Linked DNA regions of Homo sapiens: region 2 is linked to region 1. The links are contacts of gene promoters, found by promoter capture Hi-C in blood cells and fetal thymus (Javierre and others, 2016). All regions are on one chromosome and are shown on one strand. The core of a region is centred on a gene start or on the middle of the fragment in contact, and the rest is flanking DNA. Distances in the headings are between cores, read along the strand shown.

Region 1 (6,654 bases), core at 761-3,260:
TCCTCAAGTGATCCTCCCACCTTAGCCTCCCTAGTAGCTGGGACTACAGGTGCGTGCCACCACTCCTGGCTAATTTTTTAATTTTAGTAGAGATGGGATCTTGCTATGTTGCCCAGGCTGGCCAACATAGCAGGCCTCAAGTGATCCTCCCACCTTAGCCTCCCAAAGTGCTGGGATTACACATGTAAGCCACTTCGCCTGGCCCTGAGTGTTTTAAATTTAGTTAATTCTTTTCCTACATGGCATATTAGAACATCAGAACATAGAACAGACTGGAATTGGGCCACATGGCTTTGTTATAAGTTTTAGGTGGCTTTCTTTAAAATATAAAGATAAAAAAGTATATGTATCAGGTCTCCTGAAATCCATTCTCATGCCCTAAGCTCTTTGGACATTTTCAGTAGTAGAGAGGAGGAGCCTGCCATGCTTGCCTTTAACTGTCTTTCCTTTCCAGATAAGAACACATGGAGTATATTACACACCCAGGGTGCCCTTGTGCAAGGGGGTTACGGCCATAGCAGTGTTTACGACCATAGGACCAGGGCCCTATACGTTCATGGTGGCTACAAGGCTTTCAGTGCCAATAAGTACCGGCTTGCAGATGATCTCTACCGATATGATGTGGATACCCAGATGTGGTGGGTACTTTTTCTTGAGCTTTCACTTTAAGGTGTAAATTCTGTAGAGGCAATTGTGGAGAAAATATTGTGCTATCTTTTTGTTTTCATGCCTGGCAGATAATTCTGTTCGGCATTATATATAGAGAAATTGGGAAATAAACAGAGGGTAATAAAGTAGCTAGTATTTATTTTGTTACGTTATTCTGTAATTCTGTAGCAGGTTGGTTAGAAAATACTTAGAGTTTTTTAACAAATGTAAAGCAAATTTGAGTTACGAAATAATGTAATTATAAAGCGATGGTTTCTCCTCTTTTTCCTCACATGTTTGATACCTTGCTATGGGTACTGTTTTATATTCTGTCATAAAAATAATCATTTTTAGTAGCTGTGCAATACTCCATTTTGTGGGTATGCTGAGACTATGCAGGTGAAAGTTTTGGTTTCTTTCTAGTTTTTATGTCATTAAGAAACCATTATGCATTAAGCTTCTGTCAATATTTCACATGATTTCTGCCCAGAAACTGGAATTATATAGCTACGGGGTATGAAGAGTTTAAGGTTCTTAATATATTTTGCCAAAACTCTTACAGGTCTTTAAAATTATCTGTATTTATTGTTGAAAAACTTACTTTTATGTAGGGAAAACTCTGGAAGGATTTGTACATTTGGGTCTGAGGTTAATAAAGTGGTTGTGCTTGCATTAGCAGATACATAAATATTCTTTAAAAACTAACCTTGTATTTATTATTTCTAAATAAACTCAAAAGGACCATTCTTAAGGACAGCCGATTTTTCCGTTACTTGCACACAGCTGTGATAGTGAGTGGAACCATGCTGGTGTTTGGAGGAAACACACACAATGACACATCTATGAGCCATGGCGCCAAATGCTTCTCTTCAGATTTCATGGCCTATGACATTGGTAAGTTTCCCAAAACCATTTTCTCTTCAGGCATCTTTTTGCCTATACTATAAGCAGCATTTAAAAGGAGACTGAAAATATTGCCAGTTCAAAATGATCAGGCCATTTGAAAGAGGTCCAAATGGTATTTTTTATATTCATTTGACTAATGTTACACATCTGGTAAAAATTATTTCTACATTAAATTCTTTTTGAAATCACTCCTGTTAATTGCTTGAATGCTAATTTTTAAGGCTGAGTTGAGGTGTCTAGTCTCTCCTTTGTCATGTTATGCCTACCTGGTAGTGTTACATAGTTGCAACCACCAGCATTGTGTTAAAATTGGTTCACGTATTAGCTTTATCTCATTCCCTAGAAAACTGGTTTCTCACATGGTCTTGGTGTGGCAATATACCAGACCAGAAGAGGGCAGTATTTGTTCATGCAAAGCAAATGCATACCGGATGATCTCTTTCATAAAAATTGTCAGATGTTCATTTTAAACAAATTATTATTTTTTTGATTGTGGTAAAATACACATAAAATTTACCATCCTAACTATATTTAAATGTCTAGTTTAGTGATACTAAACACATTCATAATGTTATAAATCCATCACCGCCATCCATCTTCAGAACTGTCTTCATCTTGTAAGACTGAAGCTGTATACCCATTAAACAATAATGTCCCATTTCTTCCTCCCCACAATGCCTGGCAACCACTATTCTACAGTCTGTCTCTGTGATTTTGACTATTCCAAGTCAGACATTCGTTTTTAACAGACATTTGTGTGCCAGCCACTCAGTTTGTACATTGAGGAGATCAGATGAATAACTTAAAGCCCTTAGCCTCAAAGTAGAAGAGGTAGAGAAATGAGCAGACAATAGAATTGCACTTCAGGGTGTTTCTGGCTGAAAAGAATGTATGAGAGCACCTCTGAGTACCCTTTAAGTCATGGAGGGTAGAGTGATAAACAGGGAACACTTTCTTAAGGAGGGGCCATCCTCTCTGGGTCCTTGGGGACACTAGGTGTCAGGTAGGTGAAGTTAGGCAGCACTCTCCAGGCAGAGGAAACCCAGTTTGCAGAGACACAGAGGTGGAAAAGACCGGCACATATTTAAGGGCTCAAAGAGTGAGACACTGAGTGTGAGGTTGGCATGGTATAGCAGCACCAGTTGGTATTAGATCCAGAAGAGAAGTTGCTAGTATGGGTCACAACAAGGGAAAATTAATCAATCTATGGGATCTAGGAAAGGACTTTGTAAAAATTAGGTGACATTTAAATTTCTTGAAATTTCATTTTCCACCTTTATTTTTCCATTTTAGCTACTAAATTTGAGCAAATCAATATAGAAAAGAGTGGAAAATAATTATGAAACCCATGTTTTGCTGACATAAGCTTTGTAGAATGTAAAATTTGCTTGCTTTAAAAAACATTCTTGGCTGGGCGTGGTGGTTCATGCCTGTAATCCCAGCACTTTGGGAGGCCCAGGTGGGCAGATCACGAGGTCAGGAGATTGAGACTATCCTGGCTAACACGGTGAAACCCCATCTCTACTAAAAATAAAAAAAATTAGCCAGGCATGGTGGCAGGCGCCTATAGGCCCAGCTACTTGGGAGGATGAGGCAGGAGAATGGCGTGAACCTGGGAGGAGGAGCTTGCAGTGAGCTGAGATCACACCACTGCACTCCAGCCTGGGTGACAGAGCGAGACTCTGTCTCAATTCTAGTGCATCAAACTGATAGGCAGTTGGGTGAGTGATCCAGATGTCATGGATTTCGGGTGCGTTTGCTAGTTAGAATTGTGGTATGATCCCGCCTTTCTTCCATGCCCTGTTGCTCTGCTGCTGCTTCATTTTAACCCAGAAATGATGTTGTAACTGAGAAAATTGAGAGGCATGTTTTATGAGGTTCTCTTTGTTGTAGTATTTTTCCCAAAGAAAATGTCAGGTCCTGTTGATTAGAAATGGTAGTCCGTTTAAAAATATATTTTTCTTTCTCCTAGCCTGTGACCGCTGGTCAGTGCTTCCCAGACCTGATCTCCACCATGATGTCAACAGATTTGGCCATTCAGCAGTCTTACACAACAGGTAATTGGAGAAGTGATTGCTCCTTTTCTTTTGTGTTTAAAATGAAAATAAAGGGCCGGGCACGGTGGCTCACGCCTGTAATTCTGGCACTTTGGGAGGCCGAGGCGGGTGGAATACGAGGTCAGGAGATCAAGACCATCCTGGCCAACATGGTAAAGACCCATCTCTACTAAAAGTACAAAAATTAGCTGGGCTTGGTAGTGCGTGCCTGTAATCCCCCCTAGTTGGGAGGCTGAGGCAGGAGAATCGCTTGAACGAGGGATGCTGAGGCAGGAGAATCACTTGAACCAGGGAGTTGGAGGTTGCCGTGAGACGAGATCGCGCCACAGCACTCCAGCCTGGCAACAGAGCAAGACTCTGTCTCAAAAAAAAAAAAAAAAAAAAAAAAGAGAAAAGTAAAGTGGAATTGGACTCAACATATTATTCACAAGATTCCCTCATCCCAGTAGTTTTTTTACAGGATTATGTGGGTATAAATTTTCTGATTTATGTTTAAAATATTTGATGTGGAGGTGAATTACTTTGAATGCCATGTTTATTGATCTGGTTTTGTTAGCACGCAAGAGCATGCTTTTTGGTGTGGTCTGAGTGCCTGGGGCAACAAAAGTTACGTGCATGTCATTGTCTTATGTCCTTTGTTATTGTTAGTGGTATTTAGGTTGTCAAGTTCCTAGTAGTTGTATCTGAATAGTAAGAAGTTTGGAAAAGAGGAGAGAGGGCACTTCAGATGGGGGGATAAGGTAGGAGAACAGAGGTGGAGAGATTGTGAAGTTTAATATAGCTCAAGTCTGTAGGCTCTGGATAATCAGAAGTCTGCAGTTCATTGCATTTTATCGCTCAAAAATGCCTGGCCCAAACTACCAGAGCTCTTCAAAAAATCGGCCCTTGGAGAAGTCTCAGTCAAATAAGGGAGATTCAGAGTGGCCACTCTACTTGTTCCTTACAGTGTGCTTTAAAGATTTTTAAGAAGTTAAACAGCCTAATCACATTATTAATTTTTCTCATTCAGTTTCTGCTATTACTACTGCTGTCTACTTTCCCTTTTTTAAAATTCTAAGCCATATAAATCCTAAGGATGTTTAAGCGTTATAATGCCTGCATCATGTTAGAATTCCTTTGGCTTTTGAAATTTCTGTTGTAACGATGGAAGACAGATGAGGTAATTTCACTTAGATTAGGAAAGATGAGAGGCCGGGCACGGTGGCTCACGCCTGTAATCCCAGCACTTTGGGAGGCCGAGGAGGGCCGATCACTTGAGCCCAGGAGTTCCAGACCACCCTGGTCAACATGGCAAAACCCCCGTCTCTTCCTAAAATACAAAACAATTAGCCAGGTGTGGTGGTAGGCACCTGTAGTCCCAGCTACTTGGGAGGCTGAGGCAGGAGAATCACTTGAACCCAGGAGGCGGAAATTGCAGTGAGCCAAGATTATGCCACTGCATTCCAGCCTGGGCGACAGCGAGACTCCATCTCAAAAAAAAAAAAAAAAAAAAGGAAAAGTGAGAAGGTGACATATTTTGGAGATGTTGTGAAGGAAGAGTTGAGACAATTTAGGAACTAGCTACTAGGAAAAGGTGCTATCTTATATAAGGTAATTATTTCGTTTTTTAGCAATGTGTATGGTTTTACTATGAGAACATTTGACAGCTAGAGACTAAAATGGAAGGATTTCTGGCCACCTTGCTAATTTGAAGTGTTATTATAAATCATAATCTTGAACTTCCTCAGTACAGAAGACCCTTAAAGCTTTCTAGCAAGTGCCTCTTGAGATTTTCATCTGAAACGCAGTGGGACCATTTTGTCATTATCATGCCTGTGGGAGCCTGGCCTCAACTGTCTTCGTTTGTGTTCCTAGTTCTCCTAGCACAGGATTTGGCACATAATAGACATTTGCTAAATGGCAGGTATTAGTACAGTCATAACTAGCAAACAAATGAATTTTTTATAAAACATTCTTAGGTTTTATTCAAACTCAGAGAAGTTGAGACTTTACCATAAAATATAATTTAATCATGAGTCAAAATTGGGAATGCCTTGCCTGAGTTGTAATGTTTTCATTTTATGTGATTCCAGTGGTATGTTTGAACCCTGATATGTAAGTATCTGTGTGTGTGAGACAGGATTGGGTAGGTGGCAGGAGACCCTGAGGGAGGCCAGCTACTAAAAGGCCATAGTTTTGGTTTAATTTTATGAAATAATTTACTGAAAAAGAAACTTCGATTCACAGCATTTCTTCATGCTTTAAGTGGATCAACAGCATTGGGTGAGCTGTGCCTTCCTTGGTTTTCATTGAGGTTTTGAGGGAGGCAGGAAGGAGGAGGAGAGATGGCTGTGACATACCAAGGCGGCAGGAGATGCAGCTGTGCCTCTCAGTTGCCTGCTCCATGTGTCTCTGAGAGACTCTCCCTAACTTTGCAGAGCCCCTGTGCAACCAGATGGATTCACAATTGCTGAGAACACCAACTGTACTGGGAAGAGGAGGTTGCTTATTTGGTTTAAGCAACAAATTAACTAGTTGAATCTAGCCTGCTTAATGTGGTACTGAGTAAGCCTATAGCAAGGTAAAAAATGAAACCTGGCCGGGCGTAGTGGCTCACGCTTGTAATCCCAGCACTTTGGGAGGCCGAGGCGGGTGGATCACGAGGTCAGGAGATCAAGACTATCCTGGCTAACACTGTGAAACTCCATCTCTACTAAAAGTACAAAAAAATTAGCTGGGCGTGGTGGCGGGCGCATGTAGTCCCAGCTTCTCGGGAGGCTGAGGCAGGAGAATGATGTGAACCCCAGGAGGTGGAGCTTGCAGTGAGCTGAGATCGCGCCACTGCACTCCAGCCTGGGCAACAGAGCGAGACTGTGTCAAAAAAAAAAAAAAGAGAAAGAAACCTTATATTAATTTTTTAGTTTTTGAAATCTACCAGTAAATATTTCAGATTAGGCCAGGCATGGTGGCTCATGCCTGTTATCCCAGCACTTTGGGAGGCTAAGGCAGGAGGATCACTTGAGCCCAGGAGTTTGAGGCTGCAGTGAGCTATGATGACGCCACT
Region 2 (6,432 bases), core at 8-2,507, 150 kb after region 1:
TGCTGCCTGTTTGAGACCAAGTGCCTCAGGAGGTCTTGGAGGGTTGGCTGGGGCCCCAAGTCCCTGACCTCTGATTCCAGAGGCCAAGTTTAGCTGGGGAAGAAAGGGCAGAGGCAGTTTCCCTATGGACAGCTAGGCCCGGGTGTAGGATTCAGTTTCTGTTTCCTGACACCAAGGCTTCTCCCCAACTTCCCCATTGGGCTAGAGAAGGAAGAACACAGGGTGACATGGCCAGCTGGAGGTTACTGGCCCACAGATAGGGAGTCAGGGTACGGATGGGCAATTCCTGGAGCAGATTATGGTCAAAATAGTGGAAATCCCCAATCACAGGCCAAATGTTTAATTCTCAGAGCCATAGAATCCATAACTAATGCTTATTGGCTTTGACATGGGCAGTAGAAATTTCACACTTCATTCCTTAATCTGGCTCTAAATGCTTCTGGCTGGAGTGCTCACTCTCCAAACTGTGCTGGACAGCACCAGAAGCCCTCCTGTGGACGGACGAAGTGGTGATGGATGAAGTGGAATTGTGCTGGGGTTAGAGTAAGGAGAGATTATCGTTGGGCTGGGCTGGGGCTGAGGTCAGGGTGATGATCAGGTTGGAATTCTGGAAGCAAATTAAGGCTGGGATTGGGGTGGACATTGAGGTTGAGTGATGGGTGGGGGTAAGGGTGAAGGTTGGAGTTGGGTGCAGGTGATGGTTAAGATACGGTGGAGGCTGGGTTGAGATGAGGATGATAGAGTCGGAGTTGTGGTTAGGGTTGGGATGATGGATGGTTGGGATTAGATGAGATGAGTAAATGGTTAGGGTTGGGGTGCAAGTGAGGTGAGGGTGAGATAAGGTTGGAATAGGGGCTGGGGCTGGGGCTGAGGTAGGGTCAGAGCAGGGTGATGGTCGGGACTGGGATTGGGATGCAGGTTGGAAGGATTTGGGGGTGGTGGAAGGGTTTCAGTTGAGTCCATCTTTGATTAGTGTCTTGGACTTGGGTTGGTTTGGGGTCCACCACTCGCACCCAGATGGAGCCCCCCCCCGACCCCTGCCCCTATCCCGCTCAGCCAGTTTCAGCCCAGCCCCGCTCCTAATGCTCCACTCACCCTCTGGGCCCAGGGACCAGGGACAGGGGTACCTGCTCCACAGAAGGAAGTGGCTGCGGCGGTGCTGGACCTGCGGAGAGGAGAACAGGAAGGACGGCCAAGAGCTCCTGGTGCAGCTGGCTCCCCAGGGCTCTGCCGGCTCAAGAGAGAAGGATCCCGTATCAGGGGCTGCTTCCTCTTTCCCAAAGCCTCAGCTCTACTGTCCAACCCAGAGGCTGGTCAGGGAGGCAGCTGCAGGCCTTGCGCAATGCCAAAACGGGAAAGACCTCCATAGGGGAAGGCCCTCGGCAAGGCCAGGGACTTAGGGACTCCAGCAAGCAGAAGTGGGACCGCTGCAACGCTGGAGCCTCCCCAGGCAAAGTGAGAAATGGAGTGGGGGACTCCCATTCACCAGCCAAATCCACACCCCACTCTCTCTGAGCCCCTTAGGGAGGCTGGGGGAGGTGGAAGGGGGCTTCCTGCACACAGCTCTCCTCCCTGACACCTGAGAGGGAGGCGCGCCCAGCCTGGGGTGGGGATGCACTACACGATGCCCAGACCAAGGCAGTTATTCTCCAAGCCATTCAGGAGCCTCCCTGTACCACTGAGTACTCTTAAGAACCCCCAAGAGGCAGTCCCGTGTTGTGGGGGACATAAGGCCCCAATGTCCAGGACACTCCTCAGGTTTTCTCTTTCCCCTCTCACTGTCCTGTACGTTTTTTGGTTTTTGGCTTCTTGTTGTTGGTTTTTTTCTTTTTGTTTTGTTTTTGCTTTTGAGATGGAGTCTCACTCTGTCGTCCAGGCTGGAGTGCGGTGGCACAATCTCAGCTCACGGCAACCTCCACCTCCCGAGTTCAAGTGATCATCTTGCCTCAGCCTCTCGAGTAGCTGGGATTACAGGCATGCACCACCACATCCGGCTAATTTTTGTATTTTTGGTAGAGACGGGGTTTCACCATGTTGTCCAGGTTGGTCTTGAACTCCTGACCCCAAGTAATCTGCCTGCCTCGGCCTCCCAAAGTTCTGGGATTACAGAGGTGAGCCGCTGCACCCGGCCACTATCCTATACCTTCACCCCCACCTTGGGACAGGAAAGGAAAGCCCCCACCACAGCTAGTTACTGTTACATTACTGCAGCCCATCTTATTGAGGGCCTAGTTTGTGCAGGCACTTGACATGTGAAGCAGATGTTAATTGCTCCAAGCAATCCCAGATACAAGCAACAAGACTTTTTTTGGTTTTTGTTTGTTTGTTTGTTTTTGTTTTTTGAGACAGTGTCTTGCTCTGTCGCCCAGGCTGGGGTGTCCTGGTGCAATCTTGGCTCACTTTGGCTCACTGCAGCTTCGAAATTCTAGGCTTAAGCAATCCTCCTGCTTCAGCCTCCTAAGAAGCCGGGATTACAGGCGCTTGCCACTATGCACGGCTAATTTTTTAAGTTATTTTGTAGAGACGGAGTCTCCCTATGTTCCCAGGCTGGTCTCAAACACCTGGGCTCAAGTGACTCTCCCACCTCGACCTCCCAAAGTGCTGGAACTACAGGCGTAAGCCACCACTCCTGGCCATTTTTTTTTTTAATTTCACAACTCAAACTTAATTCAACTCAGTCCCTGCCTACCTGTACTGGTGGGGAGCTGGCCACAGCAAATTAGGCCCCTGTACCCTGAGGGCAAGGCCACGTGTGCAGGTGTAAAAGGATGTGAAACCCTAAATCAGGGTGGATCCAGAATCGCAGGCCATGGTGCCCCAAAGCAGATGTCTGGTGACATTCCACCCTGAAATGCTCAGGCTACAGAGATATTAGGTCTCTATCACTCTGTTCCTCTTTATAGCTCCTGTGTCCACTCCTATGCTTGGGCCATTTCCTCTTTCGGCCAAAACACAAAGGGTTCATCCCATTACTTCCTCCCTCAACAGCTGGTCCGGAGACACCCAGCTCTAGGCCTGTGGGGTTGTGACACATGGGTACCAATCCTTCAGTCCACTGGGACTCTATACATCCACCCCTTGGCTTCATGGTGGGAAAGCATCCCTTGACTTTGACCTTAGTCATATGACTTGCTCTGGCCAATGGATGTGCACGGACATGACACAAACTAAGTCTTGAAACGTACTTAAGCAGTTTGCCTTTCCCCCTGAATTTCTGTCATTGCCATGCAAGGGGCAGGCTCCAACTAACCTGCTGGTCCAAAGAGGATGACGAACACATGCAGATGACCTGAATCAGACCCATGGATTGAAACAAAACTCAGCTGAGCCCAGCCTACGTCCACCAGACCAGTCAACCTGTGGATGCGTGAATTTATTGCTGGATGCTGCTGAGAATTTTGTGGCTACATTAGCAAGATGATACAAGGCCTAAGTCCCAGAACAACACACCCAGAACTTGCTTACCTTTCCTTAGCATGAGGAGAGCAAAGACTTGTCTACCTTGATTAGTCAGGGAGCACTGCTTCCTGTCATTTCCTTGAGTATACAGCAAACTAGGTAAATAAATAAAAATAACTAGGTAGGCTGGGCACGGTGGCTCACGCCTGTAATCTCAGCACTTTAGGAGGCCGAGGTGGGCAGATCGCTTGAGGCCAGGAGTTCAAGACCAGCCTGGTCAACGTGGCGAAACCCTGTCTCTACGAAAAATACAAAAATTAGCTGGGCCTGGTGGCAGGCGCCTGTAGTCTCAGCTACTCAGGAGGCTGAGGCACGAGAATCGATTGAACCCGGGAGGTGGAGATTGCAGTGAGCCGAGATCACACTACTGCACTCCAGCCTGGATGACAGAGCGAGACTCTGCCTCAAAATATTTTAAAAAATGTAATTTCTCAGTAGGTCACACTGTTACACATTCATCTAATAACAATTATTCTTTTTCTTTTTTTTTTTTTTTTTTGGAGATAGGGTCTCACTGTCACCCAGGCTGGACAGGCTGGAGTGCAATGGCACAATCTCGGCTCACTGCAACTTTGACCTCCTAGGCTCAAGTGATCCTCCTGCCTCAGCCTCCCAAGTTGCTGGGACTACAGGTGAGTACCACCAGACGCAGCCAATTTTTGTATTTTTTTGTAGAGATGGGGCTTCACCATGTTGCCCAGGCTGGTCTCACACTCCTGAGAGTTCCCAGTCAAGTGATCCACCCACCTTGGCCTCCCAAAGTGCTGGGATTACAGGTATGAGCCACCATACCCAGTGAATTATTCTCGTTCCAGATAGGAAAACCAAGTCATAGGGAGGTTAGAGAATTTGCCAAAGACAAAACTTTTTGGTTGAAAAAAAATAAGTTTTGCTACAAGTATAGAAAACACCAAATAACGGTGTTTTAAATAAAATAGAAGTGTTTCACCCTCTCCCTCAAGTAAGTGTTGGCATCCAAGATGATATGACAACTCCACAATCATGAAACTAGATCCCTTTTTATTTTTTGGCTCAGTCATTGTCAATGGGCTGCTTCCAGTCATTGTCCAAAGTGGCTGCTTGCGCTCCAGCCACTGTATCTGCATTCGGGAAAGCAGGATGGAGGAAAGGACAAAGTAGGCCATGCCCTCTACTTTAAGATAACTCCTTAAATTGCTGATGTGGTGGGTCACTCCTGCAATACCAGCCACTCAGGAGGCTGAAGCAGGAGGTTCACTTGAACCCAGGAGCTTGAGGCTGCAGTGAACTATAATTGTGTCACTGCATTCCAGCCTGAGTGACAGAGTGAGATCTTGTCTCTTAACAACAACAAAAAAGGTAATTCTTTAAATTGTACACTTTATTGCTGCTTATATTCCACTAGAAGCTAGAAGTTAGTCACATGGTCTTAAGTCTTTATTCTAACAGGTGATGTGCCCGAGTGAATCCTGGGGGCCCAGTGCTAAGAAGTAGAGGGAGATGAAGCCCTGCCCTCCTGTGGAGCAACCAGGACCTTAATTCAGTCATTCATTCCTTGGACCTACCCAGATTCCAGCCTCAGGCCCCTGCCCACCTCCTTGCCAGTATCTCTGCAGAGCCTCCTGCCTCCCCCAGAGGGTGCCAGAGCCCTCTGCTTCCTCAGCCTTCAGACCCACTTGCTGTGTCTCAGGTGGGGACAACTCAGTCTATAGAGGCCCAAGGGAGATCTTTGAGACCCATACTGTAGTCAGCTTGGGGCAGATGGGAGTCATGTAGCTCACTGGCTAAAAGCCTAGGTCCTGCATAGAGCTGGGTTCAAATCCAGGCATATCCATCACCTGCTCTACGATCCCAGGAGTCACTCAATGACTCAGAAGCTAGAGTCCTCTGGAAAGCTTGTATGAAGAGTTCCCAGGGCCTGGAACATCAAAAGAGCTCTGAGAATGTTGGCTCTGCTGTTGCTTCTCTTATTGGGTATCTGAAGGCCGTACTCTCCTCTCTCCTCCACCCGAGGTGACCTCTACTCTCATAGCCACACCCTGGACCCTCACTCATTCAGTCACCTCACCCAGTCTGTCATCTGTCCCTCTGGCTCTCCTCTCCTGTTCATGCATCTTGTACTCACCCACTTCTGTCCCTGAGTGTTTCAAGGCTCTGGGGTTTTCAGAGACACTGAAGGGACCTCCCTCCTCAACACAACCACAAGGTCTAGGTGGAATGACCCACTAAGGGACCGGCTCTGAAGCCAGAGACTTCCAGGGAAAGTCAACAAGCCCAAGGATGCCCGTTACAAGAAAGTTAAAAGACCCATGTACATGTCCTCCCGTTTTATTCCCTGCTCAGGGTCTGGGCATACAGTGGAACACATGCAGTCCCCAAAGGACACCGTCTGTACAGAGTCAGATGGAGTTAAGAACATTTAGCCGGCTGGGCGCGGTGGCTCACGCCTGTAGTCCCAGCTACTCGGGAGGCTGAGGCAGGAGAATGGCGTGAACCCGGGAGGCGGAGCTTGCAGTGAGCCGAGATCGCGCCGCTGCACTCCAGCCTGGGCCACAGAGACAGACTCTGTCTCAAAAAAAAAAAAAAAGAATATTTAGTCTGGGCACGGAAGCTTATGCCTGTAATCCCAGCACTTTGGGAGGCTGAGGTGGGCGGATAACCTGAGGTCAGAAGTTTGAGACCAGCCTGGCCAACATGGTGAAACCCCATCTCTACTAAAAATACAAAAATTAGCCAGGCATCTGTAATCCCAGCTACTCAGGAGGCTGAGGCAGGAAAATCACTTGAACCCAGGAGGTGGCGGTCACAGTGAGCCAAGATTGTGCCAGTGCACTCCAGCCTGGGTGACAGAGCAAGACTCCATCTAAACACACACACGCACACGCACACATATTTAAACCACCACACCAACATCTAGTTCAAGATGGTGGACTGAGAACTTGTCTCTGCCATTCCTGGCCCATCCAATACCACTGAGAGCACAGTAAGCAAAGG

The links. Contacts are between HindIII fragments. The CHiCAGO score rates a contact against its expected background, and 5 or more counts as called.
Region 2: a contact is called between the fragment with the promoter of SIGLEC1 here and a fragment that was not itself captured in region 1, in 2 of 17 cell types (megakaryocytes and endothelial precursors). The highest score is 9.6, in megakaryocytes.

What each region holds. Positions count from the first base shown.
Region 1 is chr20:3,561,822-3,568,475 of GRCh38, forward strand. ATRN (attractin) reads left to right here. Exons shown (of 29, transcript NM_139321.3): 9 at 455-638; 10 at 1,388-1,542; 11 at 3,527-3,611. Among named protein-coding and RNA genes, the nearest start is that of ATRN, 94 kb to the left of the region's middle. The HindIII fragment of the contact is 1,815 bases long and covers 1,104-2,918 here.
Region 2 is chr20:3,711,343-3,717,774 of GRCh38, forward strand. SIGLEC1 (sialic acid binding Ig like lectin 1) reads right to left here and starts at 1,258. Exons shown (of 22, transcript NM_023068.4): 1 at 1,128-1,258. RefSeq lists a silencer at 5,129-5,188 and an enhancer at 5,544-5,713. The HindIII fragment of the contact is 9,565 bases long and covers 1-5,331 here.